Regions from separate parts of the Homo sapiens genome. Here regions 2, 3 and 4 are each linked to region 1. Evidence: promoter capture Hi-C in 16 types of primary human blood cells and fetal thymus (Javierre and others, 2016). All regions are on one chromosome and are shown on one strand. Each heading gives the region's core, a stretch centred on a gene start or on the middle of the fragment in contact. The rest is flanking DNA. Distances are from core to core; before and after follow the strand shown. Region 1 holds the start of DPF2 (double PHD fingers 2). Region 2 holds the start of SIPA1 (signal-induced proliferation-associated 1). Region 3 holds the start of RELA (RELA proto-oncogene, NF-kB subunit). Region 4 overlaps MAP3K11 (mitogen-activated protein kinase kinase kinase 11).

Evidence for each region. Contacts are between HindIII fragments. The CHiCAGO score rates a contact against its expected background, and 5 or more counts as called.
Region 2: the fragment with the promoter of SIPA1 here is called in contact with the fragment with the promoter of DPF2 in region 1 in 1 of 17 cell types (neutrophils); the score reaches 5.4 in neutrophils.
Region 3: the fragment with the promoter of RELA here is called in contact with the fragment with the promoter of DPF2 in region 1 in 1 of 17 cell types (neutrophils); the score reaches 5.8 in neutrophils.
Region 4: a contact is called between a fragment that was not itself captured here and the fragment with the promoter of DPF2 in region 1, in 1 of 17 cell types (megakaryocytes). The highest score is 5.1, in megakaryocytes.

What each region holds. Positions count from the first base shown.
Region 1 is chr11:65,332,525-65,335,476 of GRCh38, reverse strand. DPF2 (double PHD fingers 2) reads right to left here and starts at 1,625. Exons shown (of 11, transcript NM_006268.5): 1 at 1,559-1,625. The coding sequence starts at 1,590. RefSeq lists a silencer at 1,184-1,273 and an enhancer at 1,324-1,373. The HindIII fragment of the contact is 9,595 bases long and covers 1-2,952 here.
Region 2 is chr11:65,636,851-65,639,550 of GRCh38, reverse strand. It overlaps SIPA1 (signal-induced proliferation-associated 1), which reads right to left and starts at 1,450. Exons shown (of 16, transcript NM_006747.4): 1 at 1,369-1,450. It overlaps PCNX3 (pecanex 3), which reads right to left. Exons shown (of 35, transcript NM_032223.4): 35 at 2,112-2,700. The coding sequence ends at 2,573. RefSeq lists enhancers at 818-887, 1,839-2,629 and a silencer at 1,238-1,607. The HindIII fragment of the contact is 3,649 bases long and covers 793-2,700 here.
Region 3 is chr11:65,661,182-65,664,165 of GRCh38, reverse strand. RELA (RELA proto-oncogene, NF-kB subunit) reads left to right here and starts at 1,250. Exons shown (of 11, transcript NM_021975.4): 1 at 1,250-1,340; 2 at 1,961-1,987; 3 at 2,078-2,229; 4 at 2,331-2,479. The coding sequence starts at 1,334. RELA-DT (RELA divergent transcript) reads right to left here and starts at 1,160. Exons shown (of 4, transcript NR_183625.1): 1 at 1,018-1,160. RefSeq lists an enhancer at 744-943 and silencers at 1,034-1,443, 1,504-1,563. The HindIII fragment of the contact is 22,197 bases long and covers 1-2,984 here.
Region 4 is chr11:65,601,914-65,604,806 of GRCh38, reverse strand. All of the region lies in intron 8 of MAP3K11 (mitogen-activated protein kinase kinase kinase 11), which reads left to right. Among named protein-coding and RNA genes, the nearest start is that of KCNK7, 7.6 kb to the right of the region's middle. The HindIII fragment of the contact is 152 bases long and covers 1,387-1,538 here.

The DNA of each region.
Region 1 (2,952 bases), core at 376-2,875:
GCACTGGCAACCCTATTTCTCTGAGGAAAATCTTCCAACACGAAGAACCTCACTACGTTTAACTCCCAAAACCTAGGCAAGTCTGATACTCCCCCAGTACAATGAGAATCTTCCTTTTTATTTTTGGAGAAACCTGTGTAAAACATCCCCTTACAATGGGATGAGGGAAGTCAACAAAGACGCAGGGAAACAAAGAAAGAACATCTGAGTCAGGAAGGATAACTGGATAAATGGTAGATCAACAGTGTCATTTCTAAATTGAGAAAAATGTCAGCCTGAAGAAAGAGCTGGGGAAACTGGAGTGGGCAGATCAGAGAGAAAGACAATAGCGTTGGGAGGAGGGGTGGCTGAAAGAGACAGCAGGATAGAGCAGAAAGCAACTTAAAAAAAAAAAAAACAAACCACAAGAGGAGGAAAGGCACTTAGCTTAATGGAAGTGGGAAAGCATTCTCAAAGAAAAGGCTTCAGGCAGGAGGGAGAAGCAACTTACTCTTTAAAAAGGCTCTTAGGAAGAGTGGGGCTCAGGCCACGACAAAGACAGATGAGAAGCTGTGAGTCCCTTAGAAGAGTTACCGAACCTTTACCTCGTCATCCAGTCAAAATGCAAAAACCCTGACTGGACAGCTAGACACCACTCAATTTTCCCACCCTTGCACCAAGCCCAACATACCCATTAAAAGAAGCTCTATTCGCCCACCATGCATTAACCCAATCTAAAACTCATTCTGATTCTTCTGTAGGAATAAATCAAGTCCCAAAGCATCTTTAACTCACAGGAAGCAGTTCATAGGCCAGCGTCCATGGCCCCAACAGCTATTAACTTTAACTTTGCTTGAAATCTGACCAGCACAATGGTATCGTATAATAGGAAGAATGCCCACCTAGATGCCCCTTTAGGCTAAGCTGTCCTGAACGGCTTCGGTCCAGTTGCAGGTTTTTGATGGCTGCTACTGGACGGGGCCAAGGCCCACTCCCCTGAAGTTCCTTCCCTTCTGGATCCGCTCCTCGATAAATTCTTCCCAAGAATATTTGTAGTCTTAGGTACCTGCCACCCAAGATCCTCCCAAACATCACGGGGCTGCCTGGAACTGAAACAGCCAGCCCCGCAGTGCACTCCGCAGGGGCCGCCGAGCCTGTTGCTGCAGCGAACGGGACGGGACGGGGCGGGGTGGGCGGCGGGCCAGCCGTAGGGCCGCCCGGGCCTCGGCCCCGCTCCTCCGGACTGAGGCGTCTCGGGAGAGGACCGGGACGGTGAGTCTCGCGTGCAGGCAGGGCGCCATGCTCTGGAAACCGTCAGCCCCGAGGAACGCTGAGGCCACACAGCCCCGCAGGGATGCCGCCCGTCGGGGCTCCAGTGTGCCCCCACCAGGGCCTCCACAAGTTTCCAAAGAAGCGCAACGTCTTCTCCGGAGTCTCCTGTTGCCCTCCCCACCAGGAGTCGCAACATGGCTTTCCCGGGGATGTCCCTCTCTCCGCCTAGTCCCTTCCCCCACCGCCCCCTACTCCCAGGCCCTTTACAAAACCTGCCGCCCTAGGAGAGAAAGAAACGACCACTCACAGCTTCACTACATTCTCCACCACAGCCGCCATCTTCCCTGTTCCTCTGCCTCGGGCCGAGAAGCCCCACAGTCCGCAGCGCGCAGGCGCCGGGACCGCACCGGGGTACCAGGTTCCTTGCCCTCTGCGCAGGCGCCGTCCGGGCGCGCGCACTAGAGCGAGCACTGAAGAAAGAGCTTTACGCCTGTTCGCGGGGGCCGGGTAGGAAATGCGTGGACCCCACGGGAGCCCGACGCGCAGGCGCAACCGGAGATTGGCATGCATCCCGGAGCTCCGGTTCGAGGCTTGCCTCTAATATTTAGAGGAGCAGGAGCCGGGGCCGGGCGCGGTGGCTCACGCCTGTAATCCCAGCACTTTGGGAGGCCGAGGCGGGCGGATCACGAGGTCAGGACATGGAGACCATCCTGGCTAACACGGTGAAACCCCGTCTCTACTAAAAATACAAAAAATTAGCCGGGTGTGGTGGCGAGCGCCTGTAGTCCCAGCTACTCGGGAGGCTGAGGCAGGAGAATGGCGTGAACCCGGGAGGCGGAGTTTGCAGTGAGCCGAGATCGCGCCACTGCACTCCAGCCTGGGCGACAGAGCGAGACTCCTTCTCAATAAATAAATAAATAAATAAAGGAAAAAAAGAAAAAGAAAAAAGATTAGCTGGGCATGGTGGTGCATGCCTGTAATCCCAGCTACTAGGGAGGCTGAGGTGGGAGGATCACTTGAGCCCAGGAGTTTGAGGCTCCAGTGAGCCACTGGAGCCACATCACTGCACTCCAGCCTGGGCAACAGAGCGAGGCTCCATCTCAAGAAAAAAAAAAAAAAAAAGGAAAAAAAATATATATACATATATATATACACATATATATATACACATATATACATATATATATATACACATATATATACATATGTATATATATACATATGTATATATATATATATATATATAAATATAATCACTAAAGCTGAAAATACACATACCCTATGACCCAGCAAAGTCCACTCCTGGATATACACACAAGAAAGCTGTACAAGAAGCTGAGTGCAATGCCTCATGCCTGTAATCCCAGCTACTTGAGAGGGTGAGGTGGGAGAATCACTTGAGCCCAGGGGTTCAAGACCAGCCTGGGCAACATAGCAAGATCCTGTCTCTTAAAAAAAAAAAACAAAAAAAAACAGGCCAGGAGCATTGGTTCACGCTTGTAATACCAGCACTTTGGGAGGCCACGGTGGGCGGATCACGAGGTCAGGAGATCGAGACCGTCCTGGCTAACATGGTGAAACCCCATCTCTACTAAAAATACAAAAACAAAATTAGCCGGGCATGGTGGCGGACGCCTGTAATCCCAGCTACTGGAGAGGCTGAGGTGGGAGAATGGCGTGAACCTGGGAGGCGGAGTTTGC
Region 2 (2,700 bases), core at 201-2,700, 300 kb before region 1:
TCCACACACCCTTCGTCTGGGGCCTCCAGAACCAAGCAAGAGTCGGCTCCCCAGCCCAGGTGCTTCTACCTTGATTTCTCCTGAATAAACTCCCATGCTGACCTTGAGCCTCTGTTTTCTCATCTCTAAAATGGGGTTAACTGGCCGGGTGCGGTGGCTGTGGCCTGTAATCCCAGCACTTTGGGAGGCCAAGGCGGGGGGATCACCTGAGGTCAGGAGTTCAAGACCAGCCTAGCTAACATGGTGAAACCCTGTCTCTACTAAAAACATAAAAATTAGCCGGGTGTGGTGGTGCGCACCTGTAGTCCCAGCCACTCAGGAGGCTGAGGCAGGAGAATCGCTTAAACCTGGGAGGCAGAGGTTGCAGTGAGCCGAGATCGCGCCACTGAACTCCAGCCTGCGGGACAGAGTGAGACTGTCTCCAAAAAAACAAAGAAAAAAATTGGGTTTAATTATTTCTGTCCCCTCCCAAGGCTGCTGAGAGACTGAGAAGAATGAGGTGAGTGTCGCTAGCTATGTGTGTGTGTGACGGGTGTAGCCCCTGGCTCCATGAGCCAAGCTCTGGGCACATTCAGCGCTCGGGCCTGGGCTATAGTGTGTGAAGGAGTAGGAGGGCATGAGGGAGGGGGTCTGTGCAAGCCCCGCTCCTTGTGGGCTGAGCTCTGCACGCTTGGAAGTGAGATCTGTGCATGTGTGCACCCAGCCTGTGCGCTGCCTCTTGCTGTGGCCCAGTGCCAGGCTCTGGCGCTGCCTTGAGGGGTGTTCTCGGGCTCTGCCCCCCACCCTGAAGCTTCACACAGGGTCCATTGAGGCTAGGACATTCCTCCGGGCCTGTGTCACTAGGGGTGGGGGGAAAGGGCCGGCCCCGCCCCCACAGATCCGGAAGGCCTGGCTGCCCCAGGAGGAGGAGCTGGCCACTTCCCAGCACATCTGGAGGTCATGACCCCATTTCGGCTGCCAGGGGGCGCGACAGATGTTTCCTCCCAGGCCAGGCCAGGGACTGGGGTGGAGGCCGCCTAAGAAGAAGAGGAGCCTCAGAATAAGGGGGAGCCCCGCACACACTTGCAGTGTTGAGGGGGAGGGGGTCACAGTGCCGCCACCAGGAGTCAGGAGCCGCCGCTTCCACTCACCGGCTGGCTGGCCAGGCTAAGCCGTCACACAGAGAGAGTAGGAACGGCTGGTCAGAGACAGGGGGCTGGACATATTGACTCGGGACTGAGCTGGAGCCCGGAGGGAAGTTGGGAGGGTGCTGGCGGCGAACGTGGCGAGGACCCCACTCCCATACACATCACCCGGGCCCACGGCTAGGCCACCTCTCCCCTGTCGGGCCCGACAGTAGTGCCTCCCGTCCCCTGCTCCCGCCAGTACCTCTGGGGCTCCCGCCCAGCCGCCGCCGCCCGCGCTGGGGTCCCGCTGCCGCTCTCCCGCTACCGCTCCCGGCGCCGGCTCCGCCTGGGGGCGGGGCCATGCTGGGAGGCGGGGCCATGCCGGGAGGCGGGGCCGGCCGGGAGCTGTCTGCGGCGGGAAGCGCAGCAGCGGGGATTCCAGGCCTGGCGGAGGTCAGCACCGAGCAGTGCTCATTCTAAGGCCATTTCCTCTCCTGAGAAACTTGTGCCTGCCTTCCAGACCAACCGGGAGGGCTAGCGGAGGCCACCTAGCGTCCAGCTCCCGGCCAGCAGGTGCTCAAGAGTCTGCCACTATTTTATGGAGCACTTGCTAAGCACTGGGCCCTGGGCAACCATTCCACTAGCGCGCTCTCATTTATTCTAAAAACACCTTAGATAGGTGTCATCTCTTTACGCCCTGGAGCAGCTGAGGTGCAGAGAAAGGCTTTGGCCAAGAACAAGCCTGATAAATGTAGGAGCCACCAGACCTGGAAGTCTGACCATATGGTGGGAAATGGCAGACAATACCCTTCAGATAAAGGCTTGAAAAGGGAGCAGCCATGCGGTGAAGAGGACCCGGTTCTACCTGAACCCCACCTTGGTCTGCCCTTGATCTCTACTAGACTTCAGCCCCACATCCTTCACCCCTCTGCGTGCTTGTCCATCCCAACTTAGCCGCCTGTACTATCATGTACCCATTCCCAGGTAGAAAAAGAAACTGCCAACCAAAATCAAAAATAGTGTTATTAATTCTGATGTCTCCGAAGCACAAAAAAAAAAAAAAAAAAGAAAAGAAAAAAAAGGAAAGAAAGAAACCACCCTTCCCACAATTCAGGCCCCAGGTCCAGGCCAAGGGGGCCACACCTGCAGGCAGTGCAGGCCCAGGGGCTGAGGTGGTCCTGGCCACAGGCTCCAAGTGGGACCAGCCCATGGTTTGGCTCTTAGGGCCTGGCTGGGAGGCTGACTGCCTCCATCTGGGGAGCCCAGGCCCTGGACTGGGGATGAGAGAGATCAGGGGTCAAGGTCAGAGGTCTGGGTCACTCAGTTTTGGTACTCTGGCCAAGGCAGCCAAAGGTCAGGGTTCAGACATGTAGGCCAAAGCCACTCAGTTCTGTGGTCCAGCAGAGAGGCAGCAGAGCAGGTCCGTTACTGAATCCTAGGAGGTGGTCCAGTGGGCGCCAGGTAGCTCAGTACTGGTGTTCCAGCAGGGGCTGGGCTGCCGGGCTCTCACGCTCCTCAATAGGGGCAGGCCAGTCGCCCAGGGCACCCATAGGTGTGCCACTCTCAGGGGCACTGCTGTCCAAGCAAGGAATGT
Region 3 (2,984 bases), core at 1-2,500, 330 kb before region 1:
GTCACCTGAAGTCGGCCTCCCCCGCCCCCTGCCAAAAGTAAACACTTTTCTAATCAGGGCCAGCCACTGGAGAAACTGAAATGAGTGGGCGGGGTGCTAACTCTATTTTCACTTTTCTCTTCCTGTTTCTTCAGAGCCTGGGAAACAAGTCAGAATTTCCAATCTTTTCCAATTCCCACATGATTTCCTAATTTAAGACGAATTCAGAGAAAATAAAAAAGTCTTTCTCCATCTGGAGAAGACTCCGCCCCCTGCAGTGGAGCATCCTCCTTTGGGGATGAGGCCTGGGGTGGGGGTGCGTCAGCCCCAGCCTCCACACGGACGCGCCTTGGGCTTGGTCTTGGGGGAGCTACCTGCACTGTGGGGTCACATGACAGAATTAGTGGTCAGCCCTAGCTGGAGGTCCAGGGCAAACACAGGCGGGGGCAGGGGGGTGGGGGGTCGTGAGCCTGCTGATTCAAGTGTCCCTGTGGGTCCCGCACCTTCTGAGACACAAGCGCCAGGCTTCAGAGACGAGGCTCCGGGATTTACCCCTGGGGGCCTCCTGCTCCCACAGCCGATGAGAGCCGGCAGTTTGGCTGTATCGTAAGCTGGCGCTTTAGCTGGAGAGGGACGAGCCCTCGGCCAGCTCGCCAGCGGGAGGGCCTCAGTCGTCCCATCCGGGCTGTAGGCTCCGCAAAGCTCTTGATGCACTGTCAGGCTGGGAGGTCCGGCCGCTCCCATTCCCCCACAGCCGCATCTAGATTGGGGTGGGTAGGACATTTTAACGTGCTTCTGAGACAGCCACCACCGAAAGGCACCTTTAGCGGTTAGGAAACCCGCGCGGAGTTCAACCACCCGGCCTCTGCGGAGCAGAAGGCCCGGTCGGGCTTTTCCCTGCGCGGGGCGGGCGGCCGCAGCCCAGTAGCCCTGGCTTTGCTCCAGACCCGGCCCAGAGTGACATCACCAAACTCCGCCGATCGGCGGGAGGGGGCCCTGAAATCCCCTAAAAACAAAGTGAGTAATCGGCGGACCCACCCTCCAGGCGGGGCCGGGACCCGGGAGCTAGCCGAGCCACCGGGCACGCCAGCCTCTTCGTCCTCGGCGAGGCGCGCACTTGGCCCCGACCCCCGGCAGCGGCTGTGCGTGCAGCCTCTTCGTCCTCCGCGCGGCGTGCACTTGCTCCCGGCCCCTGCGCCGGGCGGCGGCGGGGCAGCGCGCAGGCGCGGCCGGATTCCGGGCAGTGACGCGACGGCGGGCCGCGCGGCGCATTTCCGCCTCTGGCGAATGGCTCGTCTGTAGTGCACGCCGCGGGCCCAGCTGCGACCCCGGCCCCGCCCCCGGGACCCCGGCCATGGACGGTGAGGTCGCCCTCTGACCCCGCGGGGTGGCATCGCCGGGGCCGCCGCGGCTGTGGCGGGAGCCCCCGCGCCGCTTTCCGCCCCTTCCTGCGCCGACGGGCGCTGCGCAGGGAGCGGTCGGCCTGCCGGATGGTGGCGCGGGGCGGGGCAGGCGGGGAGGGGTCTGACTCAGTTTCCCCTCTGGGTGGAGGGGGTGGCCCTTGACTCAGCATCCTCCCTGGGTGGGGGAGCAGAGGGAACCTTGACTCAGTTTCCCTCCACACCGTCCATGGGGGCAGCTCTGGCTTCGTTTCCCTATTAGGGGAGAACGCATCTGATTCAGTTTCCTCTCTGGAGGGAGGTGGGGCGTGCCCTCCCTCAATTTTCCTTAAGAAAGTACAACAGGCCCTGATTCAGCTTCCCTCTGGAGAAGAAGGATTCCTTACCCCGTTTTCCCTCAAGAAGCAGGTGTTTCTGGTTCCTTTCCTCCACCCCTTAGTTTCACCGCAGGTTCTAGGGAGCAGGTCCTGACTCAGTTCCCCTGGGAGGGAGCCTGGCTTCTCCTCTCCGTGGAGAGCAGATTCCTCCTTGTGAGAATGGGCATTGGGTGTGTGCTGACCCTGATCTCCCTCCCCTTTCAGAACTGTTCCCCCTCATCTTCCCGGCAGGTAAGTGGCCCCCGCGGCGGTCGGGGAGGTGCTCCCTGGGGTAGGGCAGTGGGGGCAGCCGCCTAATGGGGCTGCGGTGTCCCCTGGCAGAGCCAGCCCAGGCCTCTGGCCCCTATGTGGAGATCATTGAGCAGCCCAAGCAGCGGGGCATGCGCTTCCGCTACAAGTGCGAGGGGCGCTCCGCGGGCAGCATCCCAGGCGAGAGGAGCACAGATACCACCAAGACCCACCCCACCATCAAGGTCAGCACTGCGCCAGGGTGTGCGGGGAAGGGACTGTGGAACCCCAGCCCTCTGTGTTTGGGAGTCAGGTTTGGATGTCTGGGCCTCTGTACTTTGGACAGATCAATGGCTACACAGGACCAGGGACAGTGCGCATCTCCCTGGTCACCAAGGACCCTCCTCACCGGCCTCACCCCCACGAGCTTGTAGGAAAGGACTGCCGGGATGGCTTCTATGAGGCTGAGCTCTGCCCGGACCGCTGCATCCACAGGTGAGGTCCCTGCAGGCTAGGAGGCCCAGCATGAGGGGACAGGAGGCGGGCTATGAAGTAGCCGCTACAGTGTTACTCCTTTCTGGACCCAGGGCAGAATTCCTCACTCCTTGCCCTGACTCAGCTCTGCAAGTAAACTGCCTTTGTCTTGAAATTATCTATTTGTACGTTTACTCTAGCAGATGAGTTCCAGGGGATACGGATGGGTCCCTAATCACTTCTGAATTCCTGACCCCTGTAGCTGGAAGGACAAGTCCCTCAGAGTCACGTCTCTTGTTTGAGGAAGAAAACCATTGAACCAGCACTCTCCCCTGGAGTTGACATTGCAGTTGACAGAGACAGGCTGTAAAAAAATATACAGGCCGGGCATAGTGGCTCATGCTTATAATCCTAGCACTTCGGGAGGCCAAGGCAGGAAGATCTCTTGAGCCTAGGAATTCAAGACTAGCCAAGGCAACATAGTGAGACCCCATGTCTACAAAAAATAAGAAATTAGCTGGGTATG
Region 4 (2,893 bases), core at 213-2,712, 270 kb before region 1:
AGAATGTAGGACCCGCTTAGCTGCTCTCAGAAGAGTCCTGTTCAGCAAGCCGTTTAAACTCACTCCTCCCATCCCACCCAGCCCATCGCCTCTTCCATTCCCTGAGCTACACTTGATAGTTGTAACAACAGCTAACCTTTGTTGGTTCTCTTCTATGTGCCAAGCAGTTCTGTGAGGGGAGTAGTAGTATTGGCCTGCATTTTACAACAGAGAAAACTGAGGCACAGAGAGATTAAGTGGTTTGATGTAAGGCAACCAGTAGAGCAGGGATTTGATCTGCTCTTGCCTGTCTGACCACAGAGGCAGAGCCCTGGGCCTCCATCTGCCCCGCCATTTGCTACTCCAGCAGCTGCACTGCCCCCAGCATCTGTCCTGCAGGGACTGAACTGAGAGCTGGAAGGCCAAGGAGGCTTCTTGAATTCACTTGCTCTAAATTGTACCAGGCCAGATGGGCCAAAGGAGAACTTGAGAGCCTGTCAACCCAGGTGTGTAGGCTGAAGCAGGTCCTGACTGTTCCACAGAACTCTCTGGCCCTCAGCTCCCAGAAGCAGGGGCACAAGGGGCCTGGGCCCCATCGTTCTCAAGCTTGCCCCATGTTTTTTTATCCAAAGAATTTGTTAATTATTTATGAAGAGAAACTACTTATTAGCCCATATATTCATGAATAGTTCAGATCAGTGACAAACTTCTAAGTAATTCAACCCAAAGAAATTCTTCATATTCCAAAATCACTTTGCATTCTGAGAGATAGCAGCCTTCCTCATCTCCTCGAAGTATTTCATGGCATCATAACTTCTGTAGACATCTGTGCCCATAGAAATCTGAAATGCCTTCTTTCTTGGTCCAGCCCCTGCAAACTGAGAGAGCCGCAGCCCCCAGGGATACAGTGAATGCTCCCACAATATGAAATTGCAGATGTGTGGCCAGAAGGCCACATGTCTGAGGTTTCATGAAAGCACTGGAAACCATGGTAGTTACTGTTCTTGATAAGTATGTCGGCCTCAACACCAGTGCCCTTCCTGGCTGATGAAGAAATGGATTGCCACTTGCCCTGAAAGGATGTCAGCTGCCCAGCTCAGTGGCTGGCTGAGCATCTGGTTCCCCTAGCCCAATCCCACACTCCACGCATCATCTGGGTCCATGAAAGTACATGACATTGACCTCACAGCCACCCCCCGAAACCCAGCTAAGAATCAAATAATGGGGCTTCACAGAGGTCCCAGACCCTGTGAGATGGTCCCCGGCATAAGCCATACCACTGGAGAGTCACACACACCCTCACCCTGTCCCCAGTGGGCTGTTCTGGTCCCTGGAGAGCTGGCTGCAAGGAGTGGCACATTGGCAGGGTGCACTCAGCTACGCTGATAGCAACTGCCCTGTGAAGCTTGTTGCCTTAGAGCCAATAACTACGTGGCTGTGTCCTCCCTGTGAGACCTCACGGAAGCAGTTTCGCCTCTATCTATCTATCTTTGGGTCAAGAATAGTCACGCAGCTTTCTCCTAAACAACAGAGTTGCTAACTCTTGCTGCCAGGAAGCTTAGAGGCAGATTCAAATCCTAGCTGGATTATGTTGACCAAGTCCCTTACCCTTCAGAACCTCAGTTTCTCAGGCCATTGACTGCAGGAACTTCTGTTCACTCTCATTTTGTCTGCTGGACCCTATCTTCTCTTCCCTTTGTCTCATTTCTGTCTTTTATTTTTTTAAAGATAGAGTCTCATTCTGTTACCCAGGCTGGACTGCAATGGCATGATCATGGCTCACTGCAAACTCTGCCTCCCAGGCTCAAGTGATCCTCCCACCTCAGCTTCCTGAGTAGCAGGGACTACAGGTGCATGCCATGCTTGGCTAATTTTTATATTTTTTGTAGAGATGGGGTTTTGCCATGTTGCCCAGGCTGGGCTGCGCTTAAGTAGTCCACCCACCCCAGCCTCCCAAAGTGCTGGCATTACAGGTGTGAGCCACCACACCCAGCTTGCTCTTGCTATTTTCTTTTTTTTTTTTTAGAAGGAGTCTTGTTCTGTCACCCAGGCTGGAGTGCAGTGGTGCGACCTCAGCTCACTTCAGCCTCCACCTCCCACGTTCAAGCAATTCTCCCTCAGCCTCCCCAGTAGCTGGGATTACAGGCATGTGCCACCATGCCCAGCTAATTTTTTTTTTTTTGAGATGAAGTGTCATTCTGTTGCCCAGGCTGGAGGGCAGTGGTGCAATCTCGGCTCACTACAACCTCCACCTCCCAGGTTCAAGTGATTCTCCTGCCTCAGCCTCCCAAGTAGCAGGGATTACAGGCATGTGCCACAATGCCCGGCTAATGTTTGTATTTGTAGTAGAGATGAGGTTTCACCATGTTGACCAGGCTGGTCCCGAACTCCTGACCTCAAGTGAGCCACCTGCTTCAGCTTCCCAAAGTGCTGGGATTACAAGCGTGAACCACCATGCCCGGCCTAATTTTTGTATTTAGTAGAGACAGGGTTTGACCATGTTGGCCAGGCTAGTCATGCACTCCTGACCTCAAGTGATCTGCCCTACTTGGCCTCCCAAAGTGCTGGGATTATAGGCTTGAGCCACCACTCCCAGCCTCTCTTGCTTTTTTTTTTTTTTTTTTTGAGATGGAGTCTCACTCTGTCACCCAGGCTGGAGCGCAGTGGCGGGATCTCGGCTCACTGTAACCTCCGCCTCCTGGGTTCAAGCGATTCTCCTGCCTCAGCCTCCCAAGTAGCTGAGACTACAGGTGCGTGCCACCATGCCCTGCTAATTTTTGTATTTTTTAGTAGAGACAGGGTTTCACCATGTTGGCCAGGATGGTCTCGATTTCTTGACCTCGTGATCCGCCCACCTTGGCCTCCCAAAGTGCTGGGATTACAGGTGTGAGCCACCGCACCCGGCCAACTCTTT